2 separate regions of the Homo sapiens genome follow, and region 2 is linked to region 1. The links are contacts of gene promoters, found by promoter capture Hi-C in blood cells and fetal thymus (Javierre and others, 2016). All regions are on one chromosome and are shown on one strand. The core of a region is centred on a gene start or on the middle of the fragment in contact, and the rest is flanking DNA. Distances in the headings are between cores, read along the strand shown.

Evidence for each region. Contacts are between HindIII fragments. The CHiCAGO score rates a contact against its expected background, and 5 or more counts as called.
Region 2: a contact is called between the fragment with the promoter of SERPINB9 here and a fragment that was not itself captured in region 1, in 1 of 17 cell types (activated CD4 T cells). The highest score is 5.3, in activated CD4 T cells.

Annotation. Positions count from the first base shown.
Region 1 is chr6:4,015,466-4,019,954 of GRCh38, reverse strand. It overlaps LOC124901245 (a long non-coding RNA gene), which reads left to right. Exons shown (of 2, transcript XR_007059415.1): 1 at 1-1,135. Among named protein-coding and RNA genes, the nearest start is that of PRP4K, 3.6 kb to the left of the region's middle. RefSeq lists an enhancer at 1,354-1,403. The HindIII fragment of the contact is 6,943 bases long and covers 1-4,489 here.
Region 2 is chr6:2,900,617-2,905,413 of GRCh38, reverse strand. It overlaps SERPINB9 (serpin family B member 9), which reads left to right and starts at 2,105. Exons shown (of 7, transcript NM_004155.6): 1 at 2,105-2,213; 2 at 4,793-4,797. It overlaps SERPINB9-AS1 (SERPINB9 antisense RNA 1), which reads right to left. Exons shown (of 5, transcript NR_110841.1): 5 at 4,738-4,797. RefSeq lists silencers at 1,910-1,959, 2,060-2,139, 2,380-2,429 and an enhancer at 2,140-2,641. The HindIII fragment of the contact is 13,362 bases long and covers 1-4,797 here.

The DNA.
Region 1 (4,489 bases), core at 1,000-3,499:
CGCCTGTAGTCTCAGCTACTCGGGAGGCTGAGGCAAGAGAATCGCTTGAACCCGGGAGGCCGAGATCGCGCCATTGCACTCCAGCCTGGGCAACAAAAGCAAAAACGCCGTCTCAAATAAATAAATGAAATAAACTTAGTAAACTATTTTTAAATAATGTTAAAATTAACGGTGTACGTAGTAGAACTGTGAGAGATCTCATCTTGGAAATAGAGTGATATACTTGAAGGCAAGAGATTGGGTCAGGTACTATTAACACGTTTTACACATGAACAAACCGACACTAAGAGGTAAGGTAATTTGCTTATGATTGAGTTCCCAAGTACAAAGCTGATTTTTGAACTAAAATCTGACTCGAAAATCTGCTCTTTTCTTATCAGGCTGCTTCCTACAAAAATATAACCTCGCTTAGCATCTGCTTGTTAAGCATCCACCCTCACAGCTCTTTGGCATTCAAATGTTTGTTGAGTAGGGGTAATAGAGCACTACGTTCGAATCAGAAAATGCCTTATTTTTCCTTGCTTGCAAGAGCCTATTATAAATAAATGCCTTGTTTTCGCTGTGTCTCTTTCTTGTTGTCGAGAGCTCAGGCTGGTCTTAATTTCTGCAACCATAGTATTATCTCCCAGGTCTCCTTCTGCCCTGTGTATTTTGCAGTTATGCTTTATGTGGAGATGAAGCATCCTAAGTGTGGAGAACGATATATGGGGCCCGAACAATAGGTGCTGAAGCCAGATTGTGTGACTAAAGTTGGTATTTGAACAAACCAAGTGTTTATTTTTTTAAAGAGCATGGTAAAAACTAAGTTTCAAAAATCGATGCTGGCAAAAATTTCCTTGAAAAAATTCTCACCAAGTTCACTTGCACGGTACTACCTGGGGAATGAAACACATTTGTCAAGGACACGCCCAAAACTATGTTGCTGTTGTAATTTTCAAAGACTGGGAACTGCGGCAGGGGGAGTTACAATTAAAGCAAACATCGGCGTATCAGTTTATTCATTCAGCAAACGTTTATGAAGCAACAAACGTATGCCCAATATTTCAGTCTTGCTGCTCTTCCTCCCCAAATTCAGGAACCTTTGCAACGGAAAGCGGCCTCGGGCAGGCGCCTTTTGAGCAGAGGAGTAAAACCGGTAAGTCAGCAGTGGAACCCGCCTCCCCGGAAATCCTTGGAGGGGGCGGGGCCCTGGGGAGCGCGCTCTTCCCAGCGGCAGCTGGGGAGGCGCATGCGTACTTGCGTCATCGTTGGGTAGCAGCGGGGAGGCGTGGGAGGATCTGAGGCCTGCGGTGGGCCTTGGTCCCTTCTCTCCCCGCCCCGAAGCCGCCTGCTCAACCTGAGGGCCACCGGCCTCTATCCGTCGGTGCCGATGCTCCTTGCTTCCCAGCCAGAGCGTCTCATCTCTGGGCCCGGAGCCCCAGGCTCGTTCTCCTCAGCCCCTGCCGGCGGCGGCGCTCTTGCAGCCATTCCTGTGAGGTCGTTTTTCGGAGCAGCCGGGCCGGCCGAGGAGTAAGTAGGCGCCAGAGTTCTAGCTCGGGCATCTGCCTCGGGGCCCTGTCGCCGCCGCGCCCCGGATCCTGCGTTGGTCCTGTCCGATAAAGCGGAGGTCGGCCCTGCTTGCTGACGAGACCGTAAAAACCACGGCGCTTGGCGCCCTGCCGCCGCCACACCACACCAAAGTGTACCTGCCCGAGGCTGGCTTCGGGCGCGAGCTTGCATTTGTGACTTTCTCTTACCGTCTTTGTTTGCTTCGTTTTAAGTATTACTTCCAGATAAGGGACACATTCTCGAAATACTTTGAAAACAGTTTTGAATTTTGTTCCTCCCGTTGAAACGGATTAAATTTGGACCTTTCAAGCTACACTGTGCAATCATCAATCTCAATAAGCTCTTAATAGGCTCATTCTTCCGTAGGCTACAAACAAAATAAAGATCATAACATCCTGCGGAGGAAGCCATTGGTCCATGTAGAGTCGCCAGATGTCAATTAAGAGTAGATCGCTTTTCAGAGAATACTTAACGACTCTGGTTTAGACCTAGACTTGGAACTTTGAGGTGTTTGGAACACTGGGCAGAATTTTCCTTTGTTACAAAACAAAGTTTATGAGAACGTAATTTGTTTTTGTTGTTTTTGTTGTTAGTATTGAAGCAATTTTGGTGCAAACCAAAGGATAACAAAGCAAAACAATGAAAATCACCCAGAGTTCCATTACCCACACTGAACCAACTTGAATATATTGGTTTATTTTGGCTTTTTTCCATATGAAATGTTAAATTTTCTTGTACTCACGTGTAGAATATGATAGTTTGCTCTTTCATGTAACATGTCTCCCAATTTTTACATACATAATTCTAGTTTCAGTAAGCATTTTTATAACTACACTCTTTTTCCTTTGTTATTGTATGTCTAGGTTATTTCAACTTTGCACTGTTGCTTGTAACTACTATGTGATGAGGCAGTAGCTAGATTAGTATTTAGAACGTGAGCATTCAAGTCAGGCAGACCTGGGCTTCACAACTTACTGTGCAATTTCAAAGAGTTTAACTTTTTTGAGCCTCATTTTACACAGTAACATGGGGATAATGGTTCTGATTGCATAGAATTATTATGAGAGTAAGATGAAATAATGAGTGGAAGTGCCTGCAGCATGTATTGTTAGTAAATGCTGTATTACTGCAGGCAAATTTTTCTTTTGTTGTGGTTTTTTGGTGACATGTATGATTTATTTCCAGATTTTGAATATACTTAAATACTATTAACCACAGTAGGGGTATGGGGTTTGATCCACAGCTTTTCATATATTTTATACAATATATTGTGTGTTTGATACACAGCTTTTCATATACTTTATTATAAGTAACACATGAATTAGAAATAATTTTTCACAATAGGAAAAACTTTTTAAAAATTAAAATTTATAATCCTGCTAACCGTAGGTGAATAGTCACATTTTGGGCAATCCTTTTTTATGCATATATATGTAGTGGTTTTATTTTATTTTATTTTATTTTTATTTTTTGAAACGGAGTCTTGCTCTGTTGCTCAGGCTAGGGTGCAATGGTGCGACCTCGGCTCACTGCAACCTCCGCCTCACGGGTTCAAGCAATTCTCCTGCCTCAGCCTCCCGAGTAGCTGGGATTACAGGCGCCCGCCGCTGCGCCCGGCTAATTTTTATATTTTTAGTAGAGACGGGGTTTCACCATCTTGGCCAGGCTGGTCTCGAACTCCTGACCTCGTGATCCACTCGCCTCAGCCTCCCAAAGTGCTGGGATTACAGGCATGAGCCACCGTGCTGGGCCTGTAGTGTTTTCTAAAAATAGAATTATATTATAAATTGGGTTTATCAACTTGCTGAAAATGGCAGAGGCCAGTGCGATGAGAGTAGGGTGATTAAGGGAGTAGGAAGTAATGCAGGAAAGGGAGTTTGTAGGATTTAGATTTCACTGAAAGTGTACTGGACAGGTTGGGCATAGTGGCTCAGGCCTGTAATTGTGTCACTTTGGGAGGCTGAAGTGGAAAGATCCCTTAAGCCCAGGAGTTCGAGCCAGCCTGGGCAACATAGGGAAACCCTATCTCTATAAAATAAAAATAAAAATAATTATTTTGAAAAAAAAGTTTACTGGACAGAGTAAGTTCAGGGTTGAGGAGTGACCTGATTTGTTTTAGAAGGCTCATTTGGCTGCCATATGGAGATAGACTGCAAGGGACCAGGGGAGGAAGATGCAATCCAATTAGGAGAGTATTTAAGTAATCTCTGTGAGAGATGGTGTTAGTTTCGATCAGGGTGTAAGTAGGGAAAAATGATTGGGTTCTGGATATATTTTGAAGGGAGAAGTTATAGGATTCACTGATTGATGGGATGTGGAATTCAAGAGAAAGTGACTTAAAGAATTTTGGTTTGGGCAGTTAAACAGATACAGTTGCTACTTACCAAGATAGAGACTGAAAGTTGGGGGAAACTAAATAGAGTTCTGTTTCAGTCATGTTACCTGTTGTGGAGTCTAACTAGTTGGAACAGGAGTATGAAAGACTTAATCTTCTGTTCTTGAGGTATCAATTTGTCCCTTCATTTCTGTCAGTTTTTGCTACATATATTCTGTTACTAGGTGCATCTATCCTTGTAAATTGTTACATCTTCCTTGTGGGTTTATCCTTTTATCATTAAAAATGTTTCTCTTTTTCTCTAGTAACATTGTTTTAAAGTCTATTTTGTCTGATATTAATGTAGCTATTTCAGTTCTCACGTGATTACTATTTACATGCTTTGTATCATTGACTCTAAAATGTGTCTCCTGTAGACATATAGTTGGATCTTGGTTTGTTTTTTGTTTGTTTGTTTGTTTTTTGTTTTGAGACAGAGTCTTGCCCTGCCTCCTTGGCTGGAGTACAATGGCGTGATCTGGGCTCACTGCAACCTCCACCTCCCGGGTTCAGACGATTCTCCCACCTCAGCCTCCCCAGTAACTGGGATTACAGGGGCCCGCCACC
Region 2 (4,797 bases), core at 856-3,355, 1.1 Mb after region 1:
CACAGTGGTTCACGCCTGTAATCCCAGCACTTTGGGAGGCTGAGGCGGGAGGATCACCTGATGTCAGGAGTTCGTGACCAGCCTGGCCAACATGGTGAAACCCCATCTCTACTAAAAATACAAAAATTAGCTGGGTATGGTGATGCATGCCTATAGTCCCAGCTACTTGGGAGGCTGAGGCAGGAGAATCGCTGGAATTGGGAGGTGGAGGTTGCAGTGAGCCAAGATCACGCCATTGTTCTCCAGCCTAGGCGATAGAGCAAGACTCCACCTCAAAAAAATAAATAAGTGGATAAATAAATAACAGCTTTTTGTTTAATCAATTGTCTCTATCATTATAAAGTTTTCTATATCATTGATTTATTCTCTAATCTTTATTATTTCTTCTTTTCTACTGATTATGTGTTCAATGTATTTATACTTTTTCTAGTTTTTGAAGGTAGAAACTGAGGTCATTGATTTGAAGCCTTTCTCCTCTCCTAATATAGGCATTTCATGCTGCAAAATTTCCCCAAAGCTGACTTAATAACATCCTACAAATTTTGATGTTTTTATTTTCATTTTTTATTAATTTCAAAATACATTCTAATTTCCCTTTTGATTTTATAATATTTTTATAAGTATTATTCAGTTATAAAAAGAAATAAAGTACTAACAAATGCTACCTGGAACCATCAAGAATGACCCTTGAAAACATTATGCTAAGTGAAAGAAGGCAGTCAGGAAAGACCACATATTGTATGATTCAATTTGCATGAAATCTTCACAGTCGGTCAATCCGCAGGGCCAGAAAAGAAATCTGGAGGTCGGAGCCTCTCCCAGAAGCCAGGGGTTGTGGGAAGGAGGAAATGGAGAATAATTGCTAATGGGTATCACAGTTCCTTTTAGGGTGATGAAAACCTTCTGGAGTTAGATAGTGGTGAGAGTTGGACAGCTTTGTCAATATACCAAGAACTATTGAATTGTATGCTTTAAAAGGATGCATATTATGGTCCGTGAATTGTCTTTTAATAAAGGTTTTATTTTTAAAAACAAGCTAGGCACCTAGGGTGTCAAATTGAAGGAGGCTCTGATTCTCAGGGCCGCGCAAATGCAGGGTTGGCACCTATGCGTGTGGCCCTCCTGAAATTTTGTGCCTTAGGCACCTGCCTTGCTTCTCCCTAATTCAGGCCCTCAGGAGAAAGCTCTAATTCTGGTCAATTTGAAACAGGAGGGCACGGCTTCTGGGCGACGCTCCGTGCTCCAGAGAGAGCCATTTGTCTGTTCCCTTCCTCTGGACGTCACCGTGCCAACATGAAATGCTTCCAATTGAGTCCAGCCTGAGATGGAAGGGGGTGGGGGGATATCTGATGACATCACGAACTGCTGCATCAACTCCCCCGAGTCCCTGCCTCTGGACCCCCTGATAGAGGACACAAGGAGTGTCCTGAGCCCGTGTGACTCAGTGTCTCTTCCCATCACTTTGCGGGAAAATGGGGCTGCTTACACCACACCGCAGCCCAAACACCTGTGGCTAGAGAAGGGCTTGGGTACTAGGAGTGAGGACGCCTGGTTCTGGGCCCAGGACTAGTACTAGTTAGTGGTGGGACCTGGAACAAATGCTTTGGTTCTAAGTGAATCCCCCATATTCATGACAAGAGGCGTGGAACACAGACCCATGGGACCTTCCCACTGGAACACGGAGCTTGGCTGTCACCCGACCTTCGCTTCCTTAAGTACAAAAGCCCAGGGTTCCAGGCTCCGTCTCCTTTCCCGCAGACGCCTTGTTTCTTCGCGCGGAGGCCCTGGACGCCGCAGGCTCCCAACCTACTTCTCTGGGCTGTCAGGTTCTGAACCCGGTCCTGAAGAGGCCCTGGCGCCGGGGGTGGGTGAGGCCGAGCGCGCGCCTTGGGAACCTGGCCGGCCTCAGGCTGGCGGGAGCATTGGCGGACATCGCCCCGGGCGGGGCGGACTGGGGGGACCCTGACCTGACCCTGCTCCCAGCTCTGACCTCGGCCACCACGCGCGGCGCCCCCGCTGGTCCCGCCAGGCTCCGCCTAAACGCAGAAAGCGTGGGAGGCGCCCGACCCTGCGGTATAAAAGCGGTGCCTGCAGAGGCCCTAGCGGGAGTCCGCGGCGAGCGCAGCAGCAGGGCCGGGTCCTGCGCCTCGGGGGTCGGCGTCCAGGCTCGGAGCGCGGCACGGAGACGGCGGCAGCGCTGGACTAGGTGGCAGGTGAGGGCGTCCCCGCGCACGGCTGGGGTAGGGGACGGGAGTGGCGAGCTTCAGGTCCACCGGCTGCCACCGAGTGATGGGACCGGAGGACAGGAGAGGTCGCTCAGCCAAGAGCCCCGGGGAGGCGGTGCCTTCTCGGTGGGGTCAGCAACGGTCTCTGGGGGGTGCCTGGGAGCGGCAGCCGGTCTCCGCCTTGGCGGCCCACAGCCACCGCGGACGCCTCCCTCCCGGATGTCTCCTCGCTGCCCTTCCCTGGCCGAAGCCCTCCCCTGCAGCCTCCTCCCCACCTGCCGGCCCTGTGTTCTCACTGCTCTTCTCTGCTCTGGGATCCGCAGGATGACGTCTGTCCTGCTTCTTCACTGTCCTTTACAGTCACCAGTCTCGGCCGGGCGCAGTGGCTCACGCCTGTAATCCCAGCACTTTGGGAGGCCAAGGCGGTCGGATCCTTGGAGATCAGGAGTTCGAGACCAGTCTGGCAAACGTGGTGAAAACCGGTCTCTACTAAAAATACAGAAATTAGCCGGGCATGGTGGCCCACGCCTGTAATAATGTCAGCTATGTGCTGAGGCAGGAAAATCACTTCAACTCGGGAGGCAGAGGTTGCAGTGAGCTGGGATTGCGCCACTGCACTCCAGCCTGGCAGACAGAGTGAGACTTCGTCTCAAAACAAAAAAAAGAAAAACACAAAAAAACCACCACCAACAACAACAAAAAAATAAAGCCACCAGTCTCGGAGTTTCAAATCTGAGCACTCTTATCCATCTTAATTCTTTCAATAATTCAGCTAAACGAATGGGGTCCTGAGAATCTGCAGAGCCAGGCTCAGCGCTCGCCTGCAGAGCCTGCGGTCTGTGGGGACCACCAGCAAGATGAGGAATCACCTTCGGGAGGAAGGGTCGTGCTGGGGAGGGTCGCGCCGGCGGGGTCAAGAGAACCTCCTCCAGGGTGGGAATCAGAGCCTCCGGGCCGCGGTGTTTGAGGGTGAGTGGAATTAATGCCGTGATGGACATGGGGCCTTCTAAGGGGGACCAACAGTGTTTGTGAAGAGTTGACTTTGGGAGGGGTTCAGGATGGCCAGAGGTGGAGGCTGTGACCTCAGTGAGTCTGGATCAAGGGAGGGGGCAGGTGGGTAAGACACCGTTTTAACAAGGTGGCTTTGAGCGGCCACCTTTGAGGGGCCTAAGGGCCCCTGGGAGATTTAGGAGGAAGGACAAGAGGATTAAGACACCGCTTTCTGAGGTGCCGTGTGGCTGTGGCGTGGGGGTGGCTGGGGGAGTGGGTTGTGTTCATTGTCCAAGGCTCTCCAGCGCTTTGCGTGGCGTTTTGGGGAGCACAGATGAGGTGTCCCGACAGTGGGGAGTGGCTCTAGGGAGACCAGAGGCTCGGGAGGGGGCCTGGGCATTAGACCAGGCACAGAATCCGAAGTGGGAAGAAATGTGGGCGTAGAGGGCAGGCCTTGGGGATGGGTGTGGGGGAGGAGGGGGAGATGGAAAGGAGTCAGGGAGGTCTCCCAGGCTCACCTGGAGGAGTCAGGGTCTCATTTCCAAGTGCACTGGGAACTGCAGCCTGGGGGTGGGGGTTCATTTGGTTTCAGGCCTGTGGCCAAGAGACCCACCCCCTCACATTCACACTTTGGTCTCCAGTGGCTTCACAGGCACCACCTCCTTGTTCTCGCCTGTTTTACTCCTCACCTTGGGCTGTTTCTTGCCTTTCCATTCTGGCGTTCTGCAGGGATCAGATCCTTCCTCTCACGCACAATCTACACTCATGGCTTTTGCTGGGAGTAATGAGTAAAGCTCCCAAATAGATGTTTCTGAGTTAGGAAGCACATTAAAAACAAAACAAAACGAAGCAAAACCACACAATTGTCCAAGTCCCACTCTGTGTTCAAGGGTCACATGATGTGCAGAAGCTGGTGATGGGCAGGAGCTCTGAATGGAGTTACTGGGATGTCAGGCCGCGTGGGCCTGGGGCAGGCTGGCTGACTGGGAGCAGCCTGGCTCCACCCCGGCTGTCCAGGACGCACTCACTTGCCTCTATGGATGACAGCTCCTTGCCTCACAGCTGTCTGTCTCTGGGTCAGATTCAGCATCTCAGTGTCTTTTGTGTATCAGCTGAATGTCAGGGAGGCCACAGGCTGGTGCCCAGTTGAAAATCTCACAAGGACTCTTTGTAAATGCATGCAAGAATAAGAACAGCATTTTCCTCCTCCTCCCTGACCCCATTCTCCTCCTCAGATGGGACGATCTGGTCCTTACGGAAAGAATTGGAGTTCACTGCTTCCAGCTCTGTGTGTGTGTGTGTGTGTGTGTGTGAGAGAGCGAGCTCTGCAGGCGAGCCAGTTCTGTTGCTATTGCTGGTTTGAGCTGCTGCCATCACCACACTTAGCTAATTACCTTAACATTTGCACTTAATTTTTGGCCGGAGACTAACAGAAAATAAATTTTTCTCCAATTTAAAATACTTACGAACTTTAAGAAGAAAACAAAAAGTACGATTCCAAAATTGCCCTGTAGTAAGTAGGTCAGTAACATTCAGGGAGTGTGGAAACTGCATTTCTCTTTATTCTTCCCTTCCAGGCCCT